Linked DNA regions of Homo sapiens: regions 2, 3, 4 and 5 are each linked to region 1. Evidence: promoter capture Hi-C in 16 types of primary human blood cells and fetal thymus (Javierre and others, 2016). All regions are on one chromosome and are shown on one strand. The core of a region is centred on a gene start or on the middle of the fragment in contact, and the rest is flanking DNA. Distances in the headings are between cores, read along the strand shown.

Region 1 (5,030 bases), core at 763-3,262:
AATGATAGGAAAAAAGGAGGGTGAATGAACCATTCTTGTCCACTTCTCCCCCAATATTATATTATTAAAACTGGAGTGGTTTAGCAGAAACGATACATTTTTCTGTGTTACTTGGTGGCTCGGTATCCTTTTCTGGTTGAGTATTATAGGAGATGAAGACCCCTGTGAAATATGAAAAATGACAATCCGCCACTGTTTTATATCACAGGCCAAGTATCTCATAGGATCCAGCGAAGGTTGAATGTCTGGGCAGAAGATCTCAGGTCATTAACAGAAAAAGCTCTTTGGCATCCTGTGTCATAGAACAAAGTGTCAAACCTGTTCCCATTACTAGGTGCCTGTGGTGCTTTTCTTAAATAATCAGTCCCATTCAGACAGACATTTTAAGGTCTCTGATCATCTTTCTATTTCACAAGCAGTATTTTTTTAAGGCTAAATGGCACTAGAAGCAGAATGTTTTTAAAGTAAGGTTTAGAAAAGAACTTGGTATATTCCAAAGCTAGCCGGATTCTTTCTCATTTTCCCAAAGGTCAGACAGAAGTTCAGCTCTGACAGCATTGTAGCTGGGAATCCAGATAGAGGCAGGCAACATTTGCTCCAGCTCTACACTCCAGTCTGGGAGGCCTGGGAGCTCCTGTACAAATAGGAATCAATTTTAGGATAGCCTTATGAATCCTAGAGGATGGAATTAGACAAAGCTTTTTTTGCCCCTGCTTTGACCATTTGGCCTCAGATACGGGTGCCCCAATACTTTAATTTTTCTTCTTTAAAGTTTAAAGTTTTTAAGAAAATGAAATAGCTGGTAAGTGAAAATAGTCAAGAAAACATTGTAATTATGCTATATGTACATGTGCGTTTTTTCTGAAGTGGATTTTCAGAGACACAGTTAGAAGGTGTGCTTCACTGCTTTATTCTGCATATGCCCCAATGAATTCCAGGAGGTCACAGCAGCAGAGTACAACTTTTAAGATTAGAAGAGCTTGCTCTTTAAAGAGTTATTTTTAGCTGGAAGGGAGAGTGTAGACCTCAAAGTGCTGGTAGGTATGTTCTACAGTGGGGATCTAATTTGGAGGTCTTTGGAGATCTGATTCCAGGGGAAGGTCTCAGTGGGGCTCCTCTTGCCTCTGCTGCAGGACTGGGTGGCTCTGCTGATTGTCACTGCCTTGTTTGAGGGGTGGTCTCCATCATCCAGGGGAATTCAGCCTGGGACCTATTGTCTAGAGTGTACATTGTATCTAGGCCCAGACCTGCCAGAGTGTCCACAGCCACACTTGAGGAAAGGACATTCCAGACTCATTAAATATCACAATTCGATTTTGATGTCACTAACTCAGGTTCCTGAGATAAATTTCCATACAATTCCTACAGATTGATATGGATATGTGCATCACCCCAGGAGAGGCTCTGGTGAAGGGCAGGCTTGGAGATGCAATGGGCAAGGTTGGGGAAGAGATACCCTCTTCCGGGTTCCGATTTGTGCCCTGAATTTGGGCAAGCTCAAGGAGCACTGGCAACCCCACCAGCACCAGAAGAAGCTGGTCCTGGCTGTCTCCCGAGACTGGTGAAACTGCTCTGGTGGTGGTGCACTGGAAGGGTGGAGGAAAAAAAACAAAAAACAAAACAGGGTTTGAGGGGGAATGGCAGGGACACGGTAGAGGCACAGAGATACAGAGACCTAGAGTCAGAAATCCTGAGTGAGACACACAGAAAGGCAGAAAAAGGCAGAAAGATGCTGAGGGACAGAGACGCAGACCACAAGAATGACAGAAGAAGGAGACAGAGAGAGAGAGGGAGTGAGAAAGATACTGAGAAATAGGGACAGTAAGGGAGAGACTGAGAAAGACAGAGACAGCCAGAGTCGGAGCACAGAGGCCGAGTCTGGGAGACGCTGGTTGAGTGGGAGGTGTCAGTAGCGAGGGAGGTGGTGACGGCTCGAAGCATCCCCCGTCCTCCTCCTCCCCCTTCACGCTCAGCCCAGCCGGCGGCGAGGAGTCCAGAGGCCAAGGTCGCCCAGTCCTCTCGGCTGTCTCGAGCTGAATGGCTGGCAGTCTGCGGCTCCCCCGCCTCCGGCCCGGCAGCCACAGGTCGGAGGCGCCCGGCGTCGGCGCTCGAGGCCGGCAGGGGCGCCCTGCACCCTCCCGCGCCCTTCCCCGCCCTACGCGACTCCCGGCTGCTCTTCCCGCCACTCCCCTGGGCTTTGCGATCTTCCCTACGCCCCCCGGGAAGGGGGCGCTGCGGCCACCGAAGACACCGCGGGAGCCACTTGTCCCTGTGGGCCCAGCCCGCGAGAGCCTGAGAGCCGGATCTGTTTACACAGGGTACTAATTAGTCTTTGAGGAATCATTCACCCACGTGCCAAAGTAATTGTCCGTGTCAGGAAGGTAGGCGTGCCAAGCCGCGGCTCTGCGGAGAAACCACGACCACCGCGGCCGCCGGAAACCCAAAGCGCTCCAGAGCGTCCCCGGGTGGCCGGGCAGCACCAGGGACAGCGCCCGGGACTCCACTGGGGACCGGCTCCTGGGCTTCCCAGCGTCGCGGGTAGAGGTACAGCTGCTCCGTGTGCCGCAGGCTCCAGATTCTCGCCACCCCACCCCTCCCTCAGAAACTCGGACTGCTCTCGTCTGCCGTGTGGTTCTCTTTTCTTCCGAAAGGCCAGTGTCTTATCTCTCCACTTCAAGTCCAGAGGACTTGCTCAGTCTCCTCCCCTTAAGTCATTTCCACCATCCTCAGGCAGCTGTGGGAAGCCGAGAGTCCTGGACTGTTCGTCCGGGTGCCAGCGCTGGCAGTCCCAGTCCGTCCGGTGCAGCAGCCCGGCGCATTCCCCTCTCTCCCTCCCTCTTGCTCTCCCTCCCTTTCTGTCTTCCTCTCTTTCCTCCTCTACTGCTCCCTCCCTCTCTTGCCTCTTAAGTTTCCTGCACCGTGAATCCAACTGTGCCAAGCCTTGGCTCCCGCGAACCAATCCTGAGCGCGACCCGGGCACTGGGACGGCGACTCCGCCAAAGCTGGACGAGGCAGCCGGACCCGTCTGCGCTCGAGCATGGAGACGGAGCGCCTGGGAGGGCACGTCCGGGGCGCTGGAGACGCCAGGCCCGAGTAGCTTCTCCATGGAGCCTGCCCAGAGCGGTCCCTTCTCGCAGGATTCGCCCCAAGTCCTGTGCGGTACGTACCCTTTGCCTCCGCTGTTCCCGGAGGGTACACCTGGGAGCGGGGTGGTGGGCACGAGGAAGGGACGGCAGGGAGGGGCGCTGGTTAGGAAAGAGAACAAGCCTGGCAGGTGACCCTCACAGCTCGGAGGAGGCTTCTTCTCTAGAAGTTAGCGACCGGCTGTACCCTTTGGCTCGAAAAAAGTAGTGCTAGAGATGTGACTGTGAGCATTCGTGGGTATCTCTGTGTGCGCCAGGGGTTCGAATGGGTAAACTGATCCCTGCTTTCCTGTATGCAAATTGCATTCTCTTTCCCCACCCCCACTTCACCGAACGTGTTGAGGTACCTAGCACCTAATCGCGGTCAGTTCTACCTACCTCTTCCTCTCACCGCGCCCCCCTCGCTCAATCTCTCTCTCTCCCTTTATCTTTCCCCTCTATCTCTCTCTGCTGGTGTGTACGTGTGTGAGCACTGCCAGGGCTGGCGAAGAACCAGCCGCCGCCTTTAGTCCGAGCCGCCGGGCCACCCAACACAAGGGCAGGTCTCGCTGCCGGAGAAGCCTGGGCTCCGAACCAGCCTGCACGCGGCTCAGTGTGCTCCGCCGCCTGGGAACTCGCACCCGAGGAGCGCAGGGGGCAAGGAGCCCCTCACCCTCCCTCTCGTCCGCCCGCCCGCCTCCCCAGCTGCGGACCGCGCGCTTGCTGGTCTCAGGCGCTGGATTTACTCGCTTTTCAATTTTTCGTACCCTCCCTCCCTTTTTTTTTTGGTCCCCCACTCCCCGCTACGACCCCCTTTCCCCGCTTGATTGTCAAGCCTAACCTTGCCCGCGTAGTCATGGGATGTCTAATTTTATTTGCATCTAGGCTGCTGAGAGCGCTCCTTGCTCTGTAAAGTGGATGTCAGGTGGATCTATGTTTCTGAAGGAACAAAGACTCAAAGAAGGCACCGCCAAGGAAGTTTGAGACGCGGGAGAATGCAGGCTGCGTGCTGGTACGTGCTTTTCCTCCTGCAGCCCACCGTCTACTTGGTAAGTCTTGGAAGGTTCGGGGCTTTCGCATTTTTACCCCGGCCGGGAGGCAAGGAAACTGGGGACACGCGGGAGAAGGGTTACGCCGCCAGTTCAGTGAGAGCAGCTTCCTAGCAGCTGTGTTGGAGCAACTTTGGCAAGCTGGTCTCTGGATTCCTGCGGATTTTCCGGGGTTCCCACCCCATTTTCTGCTCCAATCCCCCAGTCTCCTGCGCGTGATTCTTGAAAGGGGCTAGGGCGCCCCAGACACCCTAAACCCAAGGAGGTAGTGAGATGGGGTGCTTTATGTGATAGAGGGCCAACGAGAAGAAGTGGAAGGCAGGAACTCTCAGTAGCTCATGCACAGAGTTTAAACGAAGGGAAGTGGGGGTGTAGTTGGGTGGTGGAAAGAACAAATCTGCCCAGGTCTGTGAGTTTAAAAGTGAATCTACCCACCCACTTCCCCGATTTGGAGATGAGACACATAAAGAAGCGCAGTTAACTTTCTTTGACTTGTAAGGGTTCCGACAGGATAAGTTTAACTATCAGGGGTACTGCAAGCAATCGGAGTTAGGACAGAGATACTCCAGCAAACATGTCCACCTTCCTCTCGTCTCGACCTCCCCTTTTCATCAAATAACTAAATCCCATCTCCAGTGACTAGTCCATTATTAGGGAATGGTAGGCCTTGTCGCCAGGGAGAGAATTCTAAACAAAGCCGCGGTCCTTGTCCTTCAGTAGCAGAGTTTTCCGGGGGGCTGGACTTTGTACACTGCTGGAACTCGGCTCCTGGTTGAAGAGCTTTGTTGTGGTGAATTGGTAGCTGTTTGTGCCATGTTGAGACAAGGAGAATGAGATATTTCAGGTCTGGCTTCTGGGG
Region 2 (5,030 bases), core at 1,427-3,926, 2.5 Mb after region 1:
ATATAATGAGCAAACACTTGGTTTGATCCTTATCATACATACAGTTGAATTTTAATGGCCTTGTCACTTTGTATTTACTAGTTGAGATTGTGAAGCAGCTGCCTTGTCCAGATTTGAACATTTCTGAATTTCCGGACTTACTCCATTCCCTTTAATCCTTGCTTATAAGTAGACTAATTCTTTTCTGAGCTTGTCTCTGTCTTGTAATACCCTGCCAAATGCAATCAATAGAAGCCAGCTTACATTTCTAATACTTTGCTTAAAACCTCTTTCCTAAGAGTTACAAATTCATTTGGATCATAATTCTCCTTCTAAGTCATTGCATGTAATATTTCCCCCAAGAATTGTATCACAATACATGGATTGCTATCCTTCCAGTCTTCACTAACCATTTTTTGCAGGCTATCTTCAAATCCCTAAGCCAATGCCACAAATTTTAGACTTATGATGTTCCCTACTTCTGGTATCAATTTTCTATTGGATAGACTTGATTATGCTTTGGTAACAAATTTGGTAACAATCAAACCCAGTGTCTTAGAACAACAGTGGTCTGTTACTCATGCTACATGTCCATTATGAGTAAGCTTGGGTGGGAGTTAGGGGGTGAAGTTAGCCCTATATTCTCCTCACTCAGGAATTCCAACTAAGGAAAGTTCATCTGCCTGTTTCCATGTTTCAGGGTAAGAGGAAGAACAAACGGTAAAATGTGCACTGACTCATATTTTCTGTGTAGAAGTGACTAGCATTACTTCTGTCCATATATCGTTATCCAGTGCAAGTCACCTCAAGGTACAGGAGAGTGCAATCCTACCTGCATCTGGAAATATTTAGTGAGTAGAGCTAATTACTCTCTCAACTGTTATTGAGTTCAATATGTAAGGATGTAAATGCTATATTATTTAGACATCTCCCACTTTACTATCACCTTATCCAGGGCTAATTCCGCCTTATGGAAGGATTCTCCTCTCTCATTCTACTTACCTCCTTTTTAAAGTTGCCTCTCTTAAAAAGGAACATTTATTAAGCAAAAGCAAACCCTTCCTTAGTCTACAATAGCTATGTTCTTCTTCTACATCGATCTCAATTCACTTCTAATATGACCTCCAAAAGAATATTGGCTCTTTAGCCAAAACAACCCTGAAAAAAAAAAAAAAAGCAGGAGGACTCATACTTTCTGATTTCCAAACGTACTACAAAGCAATGCAGATCAAGACTGTGTAATGAAACAATGATAGACATAAAGGTAAATGCAATAGAGTTAAGAGTCTAGAAATTAGCCTATACATCAGTGAATTCACCAATTTTTGACAAAGATGGCAAGTCTCTCCAGTAGGGGAAGAAGAGGCTTTTCAACAAATGGTTCTGAGATAACTGGACAGCCACATGCAAAAGAATGAAGCTGGACCCTTCGTATTGTGAGGTATAACATTTCATGTGCTACTTTGACAAGTTTAAGCTTCATAGACAAGTTTAAGTTCCAAAGTTCTAACAACGGGACCCCTCGCTCTTATTACGTTCTCCCAACTAACAGCAAAGGCTTCCCACCTGGCTAGTTCCCCTATCAGCTGTACCTGCTACACCCCAGCTAGCCCTCAACCTAGTAAGTTTTACTTTCCTGCCACTCCATGAAATTCAAACAAGCCAATCACATCCTCTCATGGGTACCAAGAATTACCTCATCTTTTCATTACTACAAAACCTAACCTCCATGCCCCTGCTTGTTCTTTCTTGTGCAACCCTGATGGTGATTAAAATGTTCTAAAGTTGGCTGTAGTGATAATTGCACATATCTGTGAATATGTGAAACACCGCTGAATTGCACATTTTAAGTAGGTGAAGTATACGCTATAAGAATCATTTCCCAATAAAGCTATCTAAAATTATATATGGGCTACTATCAAGAACAGTATTGCAGTAGATTCAAGAAGATTAACACAAATGCACAGATGACTAATCCATAATAGATTATCCAGAAAAGTTAGCAAATTTGGTTTTAGTCCTTGCTTGAAAAAAATTGCTTCCCTAGAAAATATTTATTGGTGGCAGTATTCAAAGAAGACAGAGCTGAATGATCTAGTGGCCTAAATAAATATGGCACTGTTTTTATATGATAAAAAGAAAAAAAGAGATAGTTTTCAGAATTTAAGCTCCGAATTAATGAGCCTGCTCATTTTATCAAAATTTTTCTTGGTTCTTCAAGAGACAAACTATCATCTCTCTTCTGACTTTAACCGTTATTCCACTTCTGATATTACTAGCCTCTTTATAAAACGTAAGCAGAGCTCCCTGAAACAATGCCATCTTTAATCTTGGAGGTGGCACACTGGGACCTGGATCTACCAGGGCACCACCTGTCACCTCTGGCAGAAAGCAGCCTTCTCTAGGGCTCCTCAGAGGGCAGCCCAATTGATGCCCACAAGAAGTGATGAGTAACATCTGCTGTCTCCTGTTCTGTCTTAAAATGATAAGAGTAGACAAGGGTGTGTTTTATCATCTGGATGTCCACAAAATCAATGTCAGCATGCAGCCACTGCCCATTACACACAATGAGCCAGGAAGCTGTTGAAGAAGCTTCTGTTCCACACAGCCAAGTTATAACAGCCCACACTCCAGAAAGCTGGGGGTGAGGAAGTCAGACAGGCAGAGCTGGAGGCTGCATCCCGAAAATCTGTCATTATAAATAATTAATATTCATGGCTAATTTACCCTTTTGGTAGCCACCAAGCTAACTATAGGATGATTCCTCTAACAATGCACATGCATTTAAATGCTTGGTCTGAAAAAGCTTAATTATATGTGAAATCACCTGATGGAAAAAAAAAAATTCTAACATTACATTTGTCCATGGAAAGAAAGGAAAAGCTGCTTTTTAAAAAGTTTTTGAAACTGATTTCAACTCTTCTAAAATTGAATTGTCCTATAAAATTTGTTTTAATTTTTTTATTACATACTTATGTGAATAACATTTCTTATCAATAATGACTGTTGAGAATTTAAAGGTATTATCATTTAGAAGTCTTGATAAGGAATTGCATATGGTCATCCTAGGGAAGTAATAATGCTGGCATTAAAAATGGTATGCAGCCAGGCGCAGTGACTCACACCTGTAATCCCAGCACTTTGGGAGGCCAAGGTGGGTGGATCACCTGAGGTCAGGAGTTTGAGAACAGGCTTGCCAACATACTGAACCCCCCCATCCTACTAAAAATACAAAAATTAGCCAGGCATGGTGGCACGTACCTGTAGTCCCAGCTACTTGGGCAGCTGAGGCAGGAGAATCGCTTGAACTCAGGATGCGGAGGTTGCAGTGAGCCGAGATCGCACCACTGTACCCCAGCCTGGGTGAGAGAGCAAGACTCTGCCTCAACAACAACAACAGCAACAATTAAGTATGCTTATGAAAAGAAACTCAGGTTTTTTTCATTAAAACATTTTAGGCCGGGCGTGGTGGCTCACACCTGTAATCCCAGCAATTTGGGAGGCCAAGGCAGGCGGATCACCTGAGGTCAGGAGTTTGAGACCAGCCTGACCAACATGAAGAAACCCCATCTCTACTAAAAATACAAAAATTAGCCGGGCATGGTGGTGCATGCCTGTAATCCCAGCTACTCGGGAGGCTGAGGCAGGAGAATCGCTTGAACCCGGGAGGCGGAGGTTGCGGTTAGCCGAGATCGCTCCATTGCATTCCAGCCTGGGCAACAAGAGCAAAACTCTGCCTCAAAAAAAAATTAAGATTTTATTTAGGATAGTATGCAAATTCAATAGTTAATATTAATACAGGAGTTATTAAGAAATTATTTTTAGGCAGCTAGAGAAGGTTAAACTTCTCCGCGCAATTTTCCTTTAATAAAAAGCAACCCCAAACCATTTCTTCTCTAATAGAAAGCGGCCTGAGAAGTCAGGCATAGATATGCAAACTGGAAGCTTTTATATGTAAATGCAGGCAGCTGTACCTGGAAGCCAGGTACATTCAATGTGGCATCTCCTGCCCTCTTTTTCTTATCACCACGTGTGCCAGCTGTCATGGCAGCCTCCAGATGACACCACGTGTACAGGCATCATGGCGACCAGCCACGTGGAGGCCAAGTTTACATAATAAAAGACTAGGGTGGGAGGGCCAGTCTTTTCGTGGGATGTGTAAATGGCACACCTGGTAAAACCAGTCCCCTGGCCCCATGTAAATCAATCACCGCCTCCTCAAGCCTCTTTACAAAACCAACTGCATTCCGCTGCAAACGGAAGACCCTCAGGCTACCGACTTTCTCAATATGAGAAAGCTTTTTCTCTCTCTTTTCTTTTTCTATTAAACTTTCTGCTCCTGAACCCACTCCTCATGTGTGTCAGTGTCCTGAATTATTTCTCAACCACGACCAAGAGCCAGGATATATACCCCCAGACAATGGAGCCCTTTCAATATCTTACATAATATTTGCTATATTATAGTATATATTCCTAAAAAATAATTTAAAAAAATTTTCCCATCACATCCCATATAGATGCCTCCAGATGCCACAAAAACTATCATATCTATGTCCTTTTCCTGCCATGACATGAAAAAAGTTAGGAAAGCATTAGTTTAAATCTAATGGCCAACCATTTCAATTATGTCTGTTTCCTATCACTACCCCCACGCTCCCAAACAGTCTTGTCTTTGTCTATCACTCCAATTCCCAATCCTGTTTACCCTGGCATTTTTACAAATTCCCATTCCCAGGATGCCCTGCCTTGCTTGGGACTGTAATACAACTACAATAAATTGATACACAGTCCTTCCATTTCTTATTACCTAAAATTAGTTGGGGATGCATCCTGCCTTTGTAAGACAAGTAAAATCATCTATTATGGACTGAATTGTGTCCCTGCAAAATTCATATGTTGAACCCCTGAACTCCAATATGACTATGTTTCTCAATTCCTCAATATATTGCCTTTAGGGAGGTAATTATGGTTAAGTGAGGTCATAAGGGTGGAGCCCTAATCTGTTAGGATTGGTGTCTTTATAAGAAGAGGAAGAGACACCAGAGATATCT
Region 3 (5,030 bases), core at 824-3,323, 2.5 Mb after region 1:
CAAAGACATGGAATCAACCTACCTGCCCATCAATGATATACTGGATAAAGAAAATGTGGTGCATATGTTATAGGAGTTATTAAGAAATTATTTTAGCAGATAGAGAGGAAAAGGGGTCCTTGGGAAGGTTTTTTCTTTTTTTAAAGCAGCTCCAGAAACATTTCTTGTCTAGCAGAAAAGCCCTGGCTCTAAGAGCCAGGCTGGCAAACTTCAATATGCAAATGCTAGCCATTAGAACTGGGTCCACCCAAACATGGCGATTCCCAAAGTCCTCTTCTTGTCCCCACATGTGCCTAGCAACATGGCTGCCCCCACATATCCCTGCATGTGTAGGACATCATGGTGCCCTGCATTTGCATATTAAAAGTCTAGGGTGGGAGAGCCAGTTTTTTTGTGGGCTACTTGAATGACATACCTGGTCAAACGAATCCCCTGGGCCCTATGCAAATATCAGACACCACCTCCTCTAGCCTCCTCATATAACTGGCTGTTTCCACCCCACCCCCTCAGGGTTTCCTCTCTTGGCTTGGAGACCTCTCCCTCTGTCTCTGTAGTGGGGAGCTTCTTCCTTCTTTCTTGCCTATTAAACTCTCCATACCTTAAAACCACTCCACTTGTGTCCGTGTCATTTTATTTAAATTGGCACAAGACCAAGGATCCTGGTGTTCCTCCAGTCATTGGAGCCATATCACATATACAACCAGGAATACTATGCAGCCATAAAAAGAATGAGGTCATGTCCTTTGTAGGGACATGGATGGAGCTGCAAGCCATTATCCTCAGCAAATTAACGCAGGAACAGAAAACCAAATACCACATGTTCTCACTCATAAGTGGGGGCTCAATGATGAGAACACTTGTAGGGGAACGACACACACTGGGGCCTGTTGGAAGATGGGGGCTTGGTGGAGGGAGAGCATCAAGAAGAATAGCTAATGGATGCTAGACTTATTACCTATGTGATGGGACGATCAGTGCAGCAAACCACCATGGCACGTGTTTACCTATGTAACAAACCTGCACATCCTGCACATGTATTCCTGAACTTAAAAGTTGTGAAAAAAAAAATTTTAAAGGAAAGCTACTGTTTTTGTACATTGATTTTGTATCCTGAAACTGTACTGAAGTTGTTTATCAGATCTAGGATCCTTCGGGTAGAGAATATGAGGTTTTTCCAGCTATAGACTTAACTCATCTGTGAAGAGAGATAGTTTGATTTCCTCTCTTCCCATCTGGGTTCCTTTTATTTATCTCTCTTGCCTGATTGCTCTGGCTAGGACCTCCAGTACTATGTTGAATAGAAGTGGTGAGAGTAGGCAATCTTGTCTTGTTCTGGTTCTCAAGGGAAATGCTTCCAACTTTTGCCTATTCAGTAGGACATTGGCTGTGGGCTTGTCATAAATGGCTTTTATTTTAAGGTATATTTCTTCAGTGCCTAGTTTGTTGAGGGTTTTTAACATGAAAGGATGTTGAATTTTATCAAAAGCCTTTTTCTGAATCTATTGAGATGATTATGTGATTTTTGTTTGTTGTTCTGTTTATGTCATAAATCAGATTTAATGATTTGTGTATGCTGAACCAGACTTGCATCTCAGGAATAAAGCCTACTTGATCATAGCAGACTAGCTTTTTTGATGTACTGCTGGATTCAGTTTGCTAGTATTCTGTTGAGGACTTTTGTATCTATGCTCATCAGGGATATTGGCTTGAAATTTTTTTCTTTGTGTCTCTGCCAGGTTTTGTATTAGAATTATGCTGACCTATGTAATGAGTTAGGAAGGAGTCCTTCCTCCTCGATTTTTTGGGAATAGTATCAGCAGGAATGGTATCAGCTATTCTTTACATGTCTAGTAGAATTCAGCTGTGCATTCATCTATTAAAACATTTTCAACTTTCGTTTATTTTCAGTTCCTCAGGAACCTCATACTTAAGAAATGAGCATCTCAGGGGGAACAGGTAATTTGCTTTTGGGCCAGACTTTGCCACTGACCAACTATGCAAGTATGAGCTGCACAATTCTATAAAACCCTACAATGCTCTCTTTCCTAAAGAGGTCTAAGTGTTTTCTAGTCAAAATTATTTGATGTTGTTTTAAAAGGTGATCTCTAAATATTCTCTGGATGCAAACTTAAAATACAATGAATATTTCATGGACTATTGAAGTATTTTTAATTGTTTATCATTAAAAAACATAAAATTGAAATTTCATTTTATTCTAGTGATGATTGCAATATTAAAAGCAAAGTCTAACAGAGATGATTCCACTGCTAAGTCAGTGCTGGAAGCAGGTATAAAAATATGACACTTTCTTTTTTTTCTTTTTTTTTTTTTCTTTGACACAGGGTCCCACTTTGACACCCAGGCTGGAGTGCAGTGGTGTGATCACAGCTCACCGCAGCCTCCACCACCCTGGGCTCAAGTGCTCCTCCCACCTCAGCCTCCCAAGTAGCTGGGACTACAGGTATGCACCACCACGCCCAGCTAATTTTTGTATTTTTTGTAGAGATGAGGTTTCACCATGTTGCCCAGGCTGGACTCAAACTCCTAGGCTCAAGTGATTCTCCTGCCTCAGCCTCATAAAGTTGCGGGATTACAGGCATGAACCCAGCCAAAATAAGGCCCCTTCTTTTTTTTTTTTTTTTGTTTTTTTTTTTTTTTTAGATGGAGTTTCACTCTTGTTGCCCAGGCTGGAGTGCAGTGGCACGATCTCAGCTCACTCACTGCAACCTCCAACTCCTGGGTTCAAGCGATTCTCCTGCCTCAGCCTCCCAAGTAGCTGGGATTACAGGAGCCTGCCACCATGCCTGGCAAATTTTTTTTCTTTTTTTTTATTATTATTATTATACTTTAAGTTTTAGGGTACATGTGCACAATGTGCAGGTTAGTTACATATGTATACATGTACCATGCTGGTGTGCTGCACCCACTAACTCATCATCTAGCATTAAGTATATCTCCCAGTGCTATCCCTCCCCCCTCCCCCCACCCCACAACAGTCCCCAGAGTGTGATGTTCCCCTTCCTGTGTCCATGTGTTCTCATTGTTCAATTCCCACCTAGGAGTGAGAATATGCGGTGTTTGGTTTTTTGTTCTTGTGATAGTTTACTGAGAATGATGATTTCCAATTTCATCCATGTCCCTACAAAGGACATGAACTCATCATTTTTTATGGCTGCATAGAATTCCATGGTGTATATGTGCCACATTTTCTTAATCCAGTCTATCATTGTTGGACATTTGGTTTGGTTCCAAGTCTTTGCTATTGTGAATAGTGCCGCAATAAACATACGTGTGCATGTGTCTTTATAGCAGCATGATTTATAGTCCCTTGGGTATATACCCAGTAATGGGATGGCTGGGTCAAATGGTATTTCTAGTTCTAGATCCCTGAGGAGTCGCCACACTGACTTCCACAATGGTTGAACTAGTTTACAGTCCCACCAACAGTGTAAAAGTGTTCCTATTTCTCCACATCCTCTCCAGCACCTGTTGTTTCCTTACTTTTTAATGATTGCCATTCTAACTGGTGTGAGATGGTATCTCATTGTGGTTTTGATTTGCATTTCTCTGATGGCCTGGCTAATTTTTGTATTTTTAGTAGAGATGGGGTTTCACCATGTTGGCCAAGCTGGTCTTGAACTCCTGACCTCAGGTGATCCTCCCACCTCAGCTTCCCAAAGTGCTGGGATTACAGGTGTGAGCCACTATGCCCAGCCTTTTTTTTTTTTAATGGAGATGGGGTTTTACCATGTTGGCCAGGCTGGTCTCAAACTCCTGACCTCAGGTGATCCACCCACCTTAGCCTCCCAAAATGCTGGAATTACAGGCGTGAGCCACCGTGGCCAGCCAAAGCCCTTTCAAATAACATTGGTAAAGACTTGGCTTTTCTTAGAATACAAATTCTGCATACAAAATTATGAATAAGAAAACATTTCTTTCTCTATCATTCTATCATCCCTCCACCAGCCTCATCTTTCTTTAATTTCAACTTCAAGCTCCTGGTACATTCATAATAACTGTCATTGGCATACCTTGTCCCTTGGGTATTCTGAGTTCCATCATCCTTCATCTAACCACTCCTCCAAATTTTCTTTCTTACTTCTAATCCCTACTCTCTGCTAGTTAACTCAGTTAGAATAACTCATATGAACTTGGTTATGCTGATAATAAATCATTGTGTTAACCCTCCAAGATGACATGTTCATACATTTTGATCTGAAAAAAAAAAAAAAAAAAAAAAAAACCAGAACCTTATTTGAGCCAGGTTCTATGGCACACACCTGAAGACCCTGAACCAGGAGGATGACTTGAGCCCAGGAGTTGGAGGCCGTAGTGTGCAATGATCATGCTTGTGAATAGCCACTGCCACTGCCCTCAAGCCTGAACAACTGAGCAAGACCCCATCTCTTAAAATTAAAAAATATATATATATATATATATATTGCTACAGACCTTCCAGGAATCACGGCAGGATAGCAGAGGTGGCAAGAGATAGTTTTGGCTGTGTATACGCAGGAAGAGAAGAAGAATCAGAGTTGTCTCTGTGAGTAGGAGAAGTAGGTAACGTATACTTGGGTATTTCAGGAGTACTCAAAATGGGTTTCCTCCCTCAACTCTAAAAATGTTATACATGTGTAACATGTTTATGGGCTTGGGCAGGGAGAACTGTGACTGTAATCAGCAAACACACACACACACACACACACACACACACAATGTTGCTATTTGACTCCTACAGAATTGGAAATTAATGATTTTCTATTTTGCAAGTAAATTAGCATCTAGTAAAGTTTAAGTGATGAAATAACAGTCACACAGGCACACTGCTAAAACAAAATAACCTCTTGTTTCTTATTCTTGAAGGATTCCAGAAAGAAAACAACAGTAAGACAGATTATCATACCTATTTTCCAGGAAATATACAGAATTTAGTTCTGTGAATCTGGTACCTGAAATGTCTCCTAAACTTAGATTATTTTCAGTTTAAGTGTCATCTAAGAAAAAACAAACTAAAAAACCAACCAACCCAA
Region 4 (5,030 bases), core at 1,694-4,193, 2.3 Mb after region 1:
AATGTCTTAAAGTAAATGGTATCAAAGAGTGAAAGGTCTGAGAATTTGCCCTACTTCTAAGGTGACAAGTTAGCCTGCCACAGTTTTATAGATGTTGGCAGAAGACATGAGACTCCTGGGTCAGAGGCAAGGAATTTTGTTATTTATAACACAGCAGGCAGCATGAGTTTCATGTTCATATCAGCTCTCCTGTCTCCATGTCTCTTGAGGCAATGGGTAGGGGCCCAGATACATGCTACATATACAGTGAGTCTATGTCACATCTGAGGGTTACTGAACTTAGTAAACCCCCAATCTTTTATAACGAGCTAAAAGCAAACTTGCCCTTTGCCCCAGAAGGAGGCATTATTTTTATTTTACTGGATGGAAAACAAACTTACTCTTGGCTATAGAGGGAGACACTATCTTCTTAAGCTGTTTCTTATACAAATCCTTGAAAATAATTTGAAAGACATCTATAAGTGCTGCTGCTGATAAAAAATACAGAAATGCAAGAAGTCCATGGATAATTATGTCCTAAAATAGAAACATCAGATTGAAGTACCTACTATTCTCTTTCCCCTCCCCACCAATCCCCTGCTAATGACCAAAGAAAAGAACAAGAGCAGTATTAATTACGCTTAAAGAAAAAACAAACTGTGCAACCAAAGTAGGCATGAACATCAAGTAATTATCCAATGAATTTGAATTAAAGTGTCAATTAATCTTTGCTCTGAGAAATCAACCCCAATCCTTACGCAGGCCTGTCCCTCATGCCTCAATCTCTGGCAAACTAGGGGACAAGGATTTGAAAGTGGTGCTCGGAACAAAAGGATCTTTCAGACAGTTGAATAGAGCAGGCTGGTGAAAGACACGGTTGGGTAACCAACATGAGCACCCAGAGAAACAAACCATCTGAAAAGAGGACTCTTGCTAATTTCTTTCTTTCCATGGTGATTTTTTCTTTATTTTCTCTTCTCTGTTATTCCCCATTCACATTACCCAAGCTCGTGTAACTGATAAGTTGATAGCATTGTACAACCAGCACAGTTTTAAAGTGCTTTGTGTATATTAACTCATTTAATACAACAATCCAATGAGATAGGTTCTAGCACCATCCCTGTTTTATAAAAGAGAAAACTAAAGCATAGAAAAAAAAATTAAAATCTTCCCCAAAGTCATACAGCGAGTAAATTACATAGCCAGGATTTGAACGTAAGAATTTTAACTCCAAGGTCCATGTTTCTCATCACTATACAACAACACCTCTAATGTTAGCACCAAGTCATGTGACTTCCATAACCTTATCCACACCAGAAGAATAATATACAAAGACATAGCCACCTACATAGAGATTTGGTACATTTTTGGTCAGTGTTTATTCCCTAAAATTGAAACTATTATGCCCATTTTTTAATGTATTCTTGCTCTTCTCATTTGAAAACATTTCCAAGTTAACTGCCAAAGATCCAATCTATACTTTTTAATGAAAAACAATATTCTATTGTAAGGATGTAACAATCTATTTGTGCATTATTCTATTCACGGGCATTCACTTTGTCTCCAGTTTGTTCCCACCACAAATATTCCAGCAATAAACTTCTTTTACATAAATCTTATGCACTCAATGCTTTTATTTCTATGGGCTCAATTCCCAGGAATAAGTTTGCTGATTAAAGGGTATGTTTATCTCTATATTTAGTAGACCGTTCCAGACTGCATTCTGAGTCACATTTCAACAGCAATATGTAAGAACCCCCTGTCTCCTCAACCCCATCAGAGTAGATGTAATTGCTCTTTTTAAATGGCACAATCTGATGGGTATAAAGTGATATCTCACTGCTACTTTAAGTTGCATTTTCTAAGTAGTGAACTTCAGATTCTTGAAAAATGTGATTAGCCGTTTGGATTTGTTCTATCAATTACAGAGTTAAATCTTTTTGTACATTTTAAATAGAGTTGTTTTTGTTTATTATTCAGGGCTCTGCTTATTATTTAAGGGTTCTGTTTATTTTAAAGATTAGTCCCTTTTTCTGTCATTTGCATTTAATTTTTTCCAAAAATCTATATTTTCTATTTAATTTTGCGATGAAAATTTATTTATACAATAGATATTAATTCATAAATACCTGAATGTATGTCTCTTTTCTTTTATAGATTCTGAGTCCTATATTTGATAGGAGCTCTCCATCCCTAACCTTTACATGAAGTAACCTATATTTCCTTCTAAGATTTTCAGTGTTTAAATTTACATTTTATTCTATCTGAAGTCTGCATATATGATGTAAGGCATGCTTCTAAACTTATTTCCTTCCAAATGAATAGACAATTGTGCCAAGATTCTTTGTTAAATAAACCATTATTTTCCTATTGAATTGAATCTCTATCATATATTAAGTTCTCATATTTACTGGGATATATTTCTGGACACTAGTATGCTTCATTAATCCATTTTTATTTTTCTATGCCAAATACCACTGGAATTACTAATTATTTGAAGACTACACGAGAAGGGAAAGGAAATAAGCAGCAATCTGGACCAACCAGTAAAACTAATAATAAACAGGAAAAAAAGAGAAAACAGTAGCATAAATAATAAAAGCAGATAGAAGTACACCTGAAAATCAGACAGAGGTATAGCTATTGCAGGACTAAATGCTACCATTTTCTGTCTTTCAAGCTTTGCTGCCGTTGTCCCCAACATTGCTACCACAAGCTATCAAATCACCTGGAGAACGACACTAAAATAATAAATTATCTTATATCATCACTAGAAGGGAATGTTTTCAAAAGAACATGGCTTCCTGCTTTACATAAATATCAAGGCTAATTTTTTGTATTTTTTAAAAACCAGTGCCACAGTAAAGCAAAAACTTGTTTTGCTTAAATGGAAGATACTAAATCAATGTCATTATTTCTATAATATGCCCCAAAGTTTTTATAGTTAGCATTAAGAATATTAATAGGCAACTATGAACTAAGTGGTAGCTGCTAAGATTTTGGGATGACATTATTTAATCTGAGGAATATTGGTAGGTGAAAATTAAATAAATGACAGCTGCTCAGGGTACCATTTTGGCCTTGCTAACTTCTCAGCAGCTTTAACAAAGAGATGGGTAAATTTCAACCAATCAGAAAATGGTTTAACCATTGAAACACGTTGTTTCTCTTGCTGTTTTTGTTCCCTGTAGAAGAGCTTACATTCTACAACTGGCCATCTTTTTGGATGTGTGAAATAGTGCAGTAAATGAAGCTTTTTGCTTTCTCCTTATGGATTTGAGATGCTTTTGTCATTACCATTACGTTGCTATTATTTTAGCAGTGTTATCTTGGGTACTGTACATTGTTTAAGGTAAAGTTATATGAACAACAATGAAAATAATACCTATAGAATTCAGGTATATTTGGTTCACCTGTATTCACCCTCCTTAAACAAGAAAATAATAAGCATCTTGGCAATGTTGGCTTTATTCAAGTAAAACTTTTCCTTCAGTAAGCTCAGTTTCTAAAGTATATATACCCTTTGTTAAGTAAAACGGTTCATTAACAATATGGAGAAAAGTAGAATAATGGGCATTCCGGTCATTTCTTGGCATCTAGTCCTGATTTCAGTTGGAGATTAAATTGCCTGATGTCCTCACTTTAATAATTGCTATGGCTGATTTTTACGAGGCTATCATGAAGAAACCTTCAAGTTTTCAAAGGAATGTCATTTAAAAGACAGGAAATTAGATGCTGATATGCCTAAGTAACTGCTAATAATTAATTAAAGTGAGTTTCAATTAGTGAGTTATTTAATATCCCACCCCCTTCCTAAAAATGTTAATAAGGTGGTAGTCAATAGGCATTATTGGGGCATTGTGGTACTAATATATACACAAGTAATGATCAACATTACATGCTTCTTAGTCGATGTTTACTTAAAAAAAAAATCAAAAGCATCTACTTCATGCAGAGGAGGTGCTACACTTCTATCACCCTAATGGTGTGAAAATGTAATGATGTTTTCCTACAAAGGAAAACCTCTTTTCTTTGATGTTTGAGCTTGGCTTCCATTACCACAGCTTCCGATAGCTGAGAAGAAAACATACATTACCCACACTATCAAAGATGTCACTGTGCTGCTGAGAAGCATATACTTAATTGTGGGATTTTAAATGATGTGTCTGCTTTTGATTTTCACGGTGACAACTCTTTACTAAAAAAAATATAAGTAGTGCTACCTAAAAACAGAAGATGCAATGTCTTCTTACTTCATAGAGGTATATACAGAAAAAGAATGATAAATCACTGTACTCTGTCATCTTTGTGATTTTATTTCATTCTGGGACATTCAATTTAACATAAACTTCTCAAAACTGCATAAGAATGAAACCCCCATTATACTGAGAAATACAAATTAAAATAGAATCTAAATGATTAGGCACTAAATGCATAAGATATTCTAGTAGATGTTACACTTTTTCAATCCAATTAGAAGGTGGTACTGCAAATTATTAATAAATGCTAGTCTATGAAAATCACTCTGTCTTAAACATACACACAGTCATTCAAACACAAATAGATGGTGGCTTAAAAAGAGGATAACTTAACTTGCAAAGTTGTTGCAAGGATTAAATTAGATAACACACTGCAAAGCACCTAGTTCATTATTAGGTAAATAATAGATTGCATTATTTATAAATTTCAGAGATAAGGACAAATATAAAGTGAAGAACTTGGAGTTTATAATATTTCATGGAAGACAGGAAAAAAAAGGAGAGGGGCAAAGAAATAGGGTGAGAAATATAATGAGTTAGAGAAAGAGCTCCATGTGGGAGAAGAGGACAAGAAGACTGGGTAGGGGCAGTGAATAATCTACTCCAATGGAAGCCCCATTTGAGCTCTTTCGACCAGAAACTTTTGCATCTGAGAGGTCCTATTGTTTGTACCAGTGATGCCTAGCAAACTTTTCTGACACTGCCCAAAACAGAACTCCTTGTCAAAGAAGTTGTATAAGCTTTCACAGAAGCAACACAGAAAATGGGTTGATATATTCAGCACTTCAGTGC
Region 5 (5,030 bases), core at 1,019-3,518, 2.0 Mb after region 1:
GTTGTAGTCCATTCATCTGCTATACACTATTCCATCAGATTTATCCATTCTCTAACTGATGAAAATTTATATTGATTCCAAATTTTCATACTACAACAGCTCTCTCAAGCAATCCTTGTTTGTGTCTCTTTGTCCACAAGTGTAATAATTTTTCTAAAATAAACCTAGAAATAAAATTGCTGATGCTGAGGGTATAAACATTTTCGACACTGTGGAATTGCCCTCTGAAGAAGATGTATTGATTTATCACCTGTCACCAGCATTGTATGAGACTTTCCATTTTATCATATTCTTAACATATGGCATTGTCAGACTTTTAAATGATTGCCATCCTGGTGACTTTTAAATATTTGTCATGGTATTTCATTTGTGCTTATATTAGTTTTTTTATTTTGCCATAACAAATGACCACAGCACAGCACAAATCAATAACAGCATAACTTTATTATTTCCCACTTATGGAAGCCAGAAGTCCAAAATGGGTCTAAAGTCAAGAGGCTACAGGGCTGCATTCCTTCCAGGGCTTCCAGAAGAGCAGCTGCCTCATTCCCTGGCTCATGGTCCCTTTTTCTATCTTTAAAACCAGTGCTGTGACATCTTAAAATTTAATGACTCGGATTTTTTTTTTTTTTTTTTTCCTTGAGACAGATTTTCACTCTTGTTACCCAGGCTGGAGTGCAGTGGTGCGATCTCGACTCACTGCAACCTCCACCTCCTGGGTTCAAGTGATTCTCCTGCCTCAGCCTCCCGAATAGCTGGGATTACAGGCATGCGCCACCAAGCCCGGTTAATTTTGCATTTTTAGTAGAGACAGCGTTTCTCTAAGTTAGTTAGGTTGGTCTCGAACTCCTGACCTCAGGTGATCCACCCACCTCGGCCTCCTTCCATGAGCCACTGCACCCGGCCCAGTAGGTCGATGACCGTACCATACGCTATATAATCTCCCCATCTCAAAGCCAATTAATTAGCAATCTAATTCTATTTGCAACTTTAATTCACAGTTTCTGGGGACATCTTTGGGGGTGATAATTTTGATGGCCATAATGTTTAACATTGTACTATCCTGCCTACAATTGAAGATATTTTTATAATATTTATTGACTTGATCTGGATTTCATGTCTGTTAATTCCCATTTTTTTCATTGAATTTTTGCTTTTTTATAAAATTTGCCAAAATTCTTTGTATTTTTAAGCTTTCAACCCTTGGTAAATTATATGTATTTAAAATAACATCTCCAAGGCTGTGACTTGTCTTTTTCTTTTAGTGCCTTTAATTCAGAAGTGATGTTGTTTGTAAAGCTGTTTTTGTTTTAATATAGTCAAATTTATCACTTTCTAGTTTGTAGTTTTGGTGGTTCAAGGAATTCTTCCCTACCTTGAAGTTATCTTTATTGTTTTAAGATGTTATATAGAATGCAAATACTTTTTTCTACTAATTCTATTTACAATAATATTTACTGTGACATTTGAAGATGTTACAGTACTGGTTTTGATGGAAATTCAAATGGGAATTCAGAGACATGAAATCCAAATAAAGTCAATATTCTAAATTTTCTTGAATTTTCTAGGTGGGTAATTATATGATCTGCAGGTAAAGAGAGTTTTTGTTTCTTCCTTTCCAATTCTTGTATTTATTTTGCTTTCTTACTGTGCTGGATGAAATTTCAAATACAATATGAAATAAAAGTAGTAGTAGCAGGCATTTAAAATTGCATCTTGACTTTGAAATAATTATTCTAAAATTTTATTATTAAGTATACTACTTCCTATAAGTTTTTGGAAGAGACCTTTTACAAATTTAAATAAACTTCCTCCAATTCTATTTTGATAAAAGTTTATCATTAAAAGGTGTTTTACTTTATTAAATTATATTTCTCTATTTAGTGATCAACTGGTTTTTCTATTGCAAAGTAATTTTAAAGGTAATGTAGATTAATGATTTTTTCACTATATCAGTATAATTATATTTTAGCTCACATCTAGTACACTTTTAAGCACGAAATAGTAAAGAAACATATACATATATAGCTATTGAACAAAATCCTTCTAAAACATATTCTACATTCCTCTGCCTTGTAAAATAAAATATGCTAAAAGATATGAAAGTGTTTCATAATTATTCAGGGTAATTAGAAAATATATAATAAGCAATTCTAGAAACAGCCAATATTTTTCTTTCTTCCTCTTTCCCCATGTTTGAATCTCATATCATCAGTCTACAACACCTTCTAACTGCCTCTTGAAGTCCTCTACCAACCCCCAGGTCACTCCATCTCATTCCTTGAAGATTTTAGTTTCCTAGTTTATTGTCACTCCCTTCAACATAACAGCTATCATAGCTCCTGGAGTAGTAATCACATATGTGATGCTTTTCCTACCAAGCACCCTTAGTTCCTTGACCTCTCCTTACTTACTTCAGCAAAGCCCTTGATCTTGTTATTAGCGAATGCTGGAGCCTTGTCCTACTCTCCATTTTGTAAGTTCTCCACTCTCCATCAATAATCTTTCGCTATTCCAACTGTCCTCTTCTTGTACTGTAACTTCTACAATTTTTGAATCCAAATTAAGACGCAATCAATTCATCCCATAACCATTATATTGTTCTTCTCACCCTCATGTCTTACTTGCCTTCCTTGAATTCTCTCAGGAATTACCATTTGCTTGCACACACTCTCAATTCCCCTACTCGTTTTGTTTATTTTCTTTCTTTTTTGAGACAGAGTCTGGCTCTGTCGCCCAGCCTGGAGTGCAGTGGCGCAATCTCGGCTCACTGCAAGCTCCGCCTGCCGGGTTCACGCCATTCTTCTGCCTCAGCCTCACGAGTAGCTGGGACTACAGGCGCCCGCCACCGCGCCCGGCTAATTTTTTTATATTTTTAGTAGAGACGGGATTTCACTGTGTTAGCCGGGATGGTCTCGATCTCCTGACCTCGTGATCCGCCTGCCTCGGCCTCCCAAAGTGCTGGGATTACAGGCGTGAGCCACCACACCCAGACTCGTTTTGTTTACTTTCTTCTTCTTGCTTCAATCATGATGGAATCCCTCTCTTTGCCCATTTCATACATGTCCCGGCAGATAAAAATTTCAGGAAATACACATACACACACTCACTCACTCTCTCAGGCTGGTCTAACATTAAATTCATAAGCACTAACCTCAAGTGAGACTTTAATACTACCCAGTTCTCATCTCTACTACATTTCTCCTGTCTAGCCATTCCTCTACTTTGATAAACAACTATTTTATGTTATCTAAACTTTTCTCAAACTTCCAATATTTTCTTTTTCACTCTTGCTCTTCAACTGATGACCTTGCTTTGTATTTATTTTTCTGAAAAAGAAAATAAAGCTTCCAAAATTCCTACTATCCCATTAGCCAACCAATTGCATCTGTCTCATATTCCCTGCCTTTTCGCCTGCTCCCATTAATGGAATATCATTGCTCTTCCTAAGAACAATACACCTACTCCTCCATTAGATCTTATTACCTCCCACTTGATCAAAAATACAACCCAAAAAACTCTCTATTCCCTCTGCCTAATCATTTTTTTCCTTTTTACTGAATTTTCTCCCTCAGTATAAAATATAACACTTCTTTCATTAATGAGATAAACAACCCTTCTTTTCCCTACAGGTACTGCCCCATTACTTTCCATTCCTCTAAAACAGGGGTGTCCAATCTTTTGGCTTCTCTGGGTTATATTGGAAGAAGAATTGTCTTGGGCCACACATAAAATACACTAACACCAACAATAGCTGATGAGTTAAAAAAATACAAAAAAAAAAAATCTCATAATGTTTTAAGAAAGTTTACAAGTTTGTGTTGGGCCACATTCAAAGCCATCCTGGATTGCCTCCAGCCTGTGGGCCGTGGGTTAGACAAGCTTACTCAAGAGCCAACCATTTGAAAAGTGTTTTCAATTTTGTCCCTGCCATTTTTATTTAAATGCACTATAATCAGGCTCATGTCTAGGTTATCAGTAAACTTCACATTTCCAAACCCGATAGGTTTCATTATACTTGTTTTGCTGGAGAAATTGACACCTTAAGTCATTATCTGTTAATGAAGCATAGGCACCAAGATGGCAGTAATTTTGTGCGTTTTTTTTTTTTTTTTCTACATCCATATCTCTGTGACCAAAACCAGTTTTTGGCGCATAGTACCCAGCAAATATTTGCTGAATGAATAATTTCTATCTCTGTCAGTCTTTAGCCATCATTTGTTTCCACTTTCTGTGTGGCTGCCTCTAGCATGCTGACTCCATTCCTTTCTAATATGTTACTTCTGATACTATGAAATGGGTCAAAAGATAATGGTGTTAAAACCTTGCTACAGAAGACACATATAGTCACTATGTTAATGACTGGAGAACTCTACAGTAACTAGAATGTATGAACCTGAATAAATTTTGTTTTTGATTTTAGCTAACAAAATTTTTTTTTTTCTTTTTGATTTTGGTTTCTCAATATTTTTTATTGTGGTAGAAACATTTAACATGAGCTCTAATCTCTTAGCAAATTTTTAAGTGTAAAACACAGCGCTGTTAAATATAGGTATAGTGTTGTGCAGTAGATCTCTAGAACTTACTCATCTTGCTCCACCAAAACTTTATGCCTGTTGATTAGTAATTCCTCATTTCCCTTCCTCCAGCCCTTAGCAATCACTATTTCACTATGATTTTATGAATTTGACTGTTTTTGATAACTCATATAATTGGAATCATAAAGTATTTATCTTTCAGACTGGCTTATTTTACTTAGCATAATGTCCTCAGGGTTCATCCATGCTGTTACATATTGCAGAATTTCTTGATATTGTTTAAATGTAGTTAATTTAACTAGATAAAAGAATTTGGGATAAGTGACGTATGACAATGATTAGTACTAATGATTTTCAAGAATAATACATAAGGCCCTTGAGTGACTTTTCAATAGGAAGATGATGTCATTGATGGGGAGATGCCAATAGGCCCATTGTTTTGATGTACAGTTTTATTAATGGCAAAGAACACAGGAGATTTGCTGAGAAGCT

Evidence for each region. Contacts are between HindIII fragments. The CHiCAGO score rates a contact against its expected background, and 5 or more counts as called.
Region 2: a contact is called between a fragment that was not itself captured here and the fragment with the promoter of NXPH1 in region 1, in 9 of 17 cell types (endothelial precursors, naive CD4 T cells, total B cells and 6 more). The highest score is 15.7, in endothelial precursors.
Region 3: a fragment that was not itself captured here is called in contact with the fragment with the promoter of NXPH1 in region 1 in 14 of 17 cell types (naive CD8 T cells, total CD8 T cells, non-activated CD4 T cells and 11 more); the score reaches 22.1 in naive CD8 T cells.
Region 4: a fragment that was not itself captured here is called in contact with the fragment with the promoter of NXPH1 in region 1 in 1 of 17 cell types (total B cells); the score reaches 6.5 in total B cells.
Region 5: a contact is called between a fragment that was not itself captured here and the fragment with the promoter of NXPH1 in region 1, in 2 of 17 cell types (endothelial precursors and M2 macrophages). The highest score is 8.1, in endothelial precursors.

Annotation. Positions count from the first base shown.
Region 1 is chr7:8,431,597-8,436,626 of GRCh38, forward strand. NXPH1 (neurexophilin 1) reads left to right here and starts at 2,013. Exons shown (of 3, transcript NM_152745.3): 1 at 2,013-3,159; 2 at 4,008-4,171. The coding sequence starts at 4,118. RefSeq lists enhancers at 2,577-3,124, 3,125-3,672, 3,673-4,220. The HindIII fragment of the contact is 6,580 bases long and covers 697-5,030 here.
Region 2 is chr7:10,904,649-10,909,678 of GRCh38, forward strand. No RefSeq gene overlaps it. Among named protein-coding and RNA genes, the nearest start is that of COXFA4, 33 kb to the right of the region's middle. RefSeq lists an enhancer at 4,517-5,030. The HindIII fragment of the contact is 214 bases long and covers 2,570-2,783 here.
Region 3 is chr7:10,881,978-10,887,007 of GRCh38, forward strand. No RefSeq gene overlaps it. Among named protein-coding and RNA genes, the nearest start is that of COXFA4, 56 kb to the right of the region's middle. The HindIII fragment of the contact is 8,498 bases long and covers 1-5,030 here.
Region 4 is chr7:10,769,580-10,774,609 of GRCh38, forward strand. All of the region lies in intron 1 of MGC4859 (a long non-coding RNA gene), which reads right to left. Among named protein-coding and RNA genes, the nearest start is that of MGC4859, 7.8 kb to the right of the region's middle. The HindIII fragment of the contact is 573 bases long and covers 2,658-3,230 here.
Region 5 is chr7:10,431,597-10,436,626 of GRCh38, forward strand. No RefSeq gene overlaps it. Among named protein-coding and RNA genes, the nearest start is that of MGC4859, 350 kb to the right of the region's middle. The HindIII fragment of the contact is 2,154 bases long and covers 1,192-3,345 here.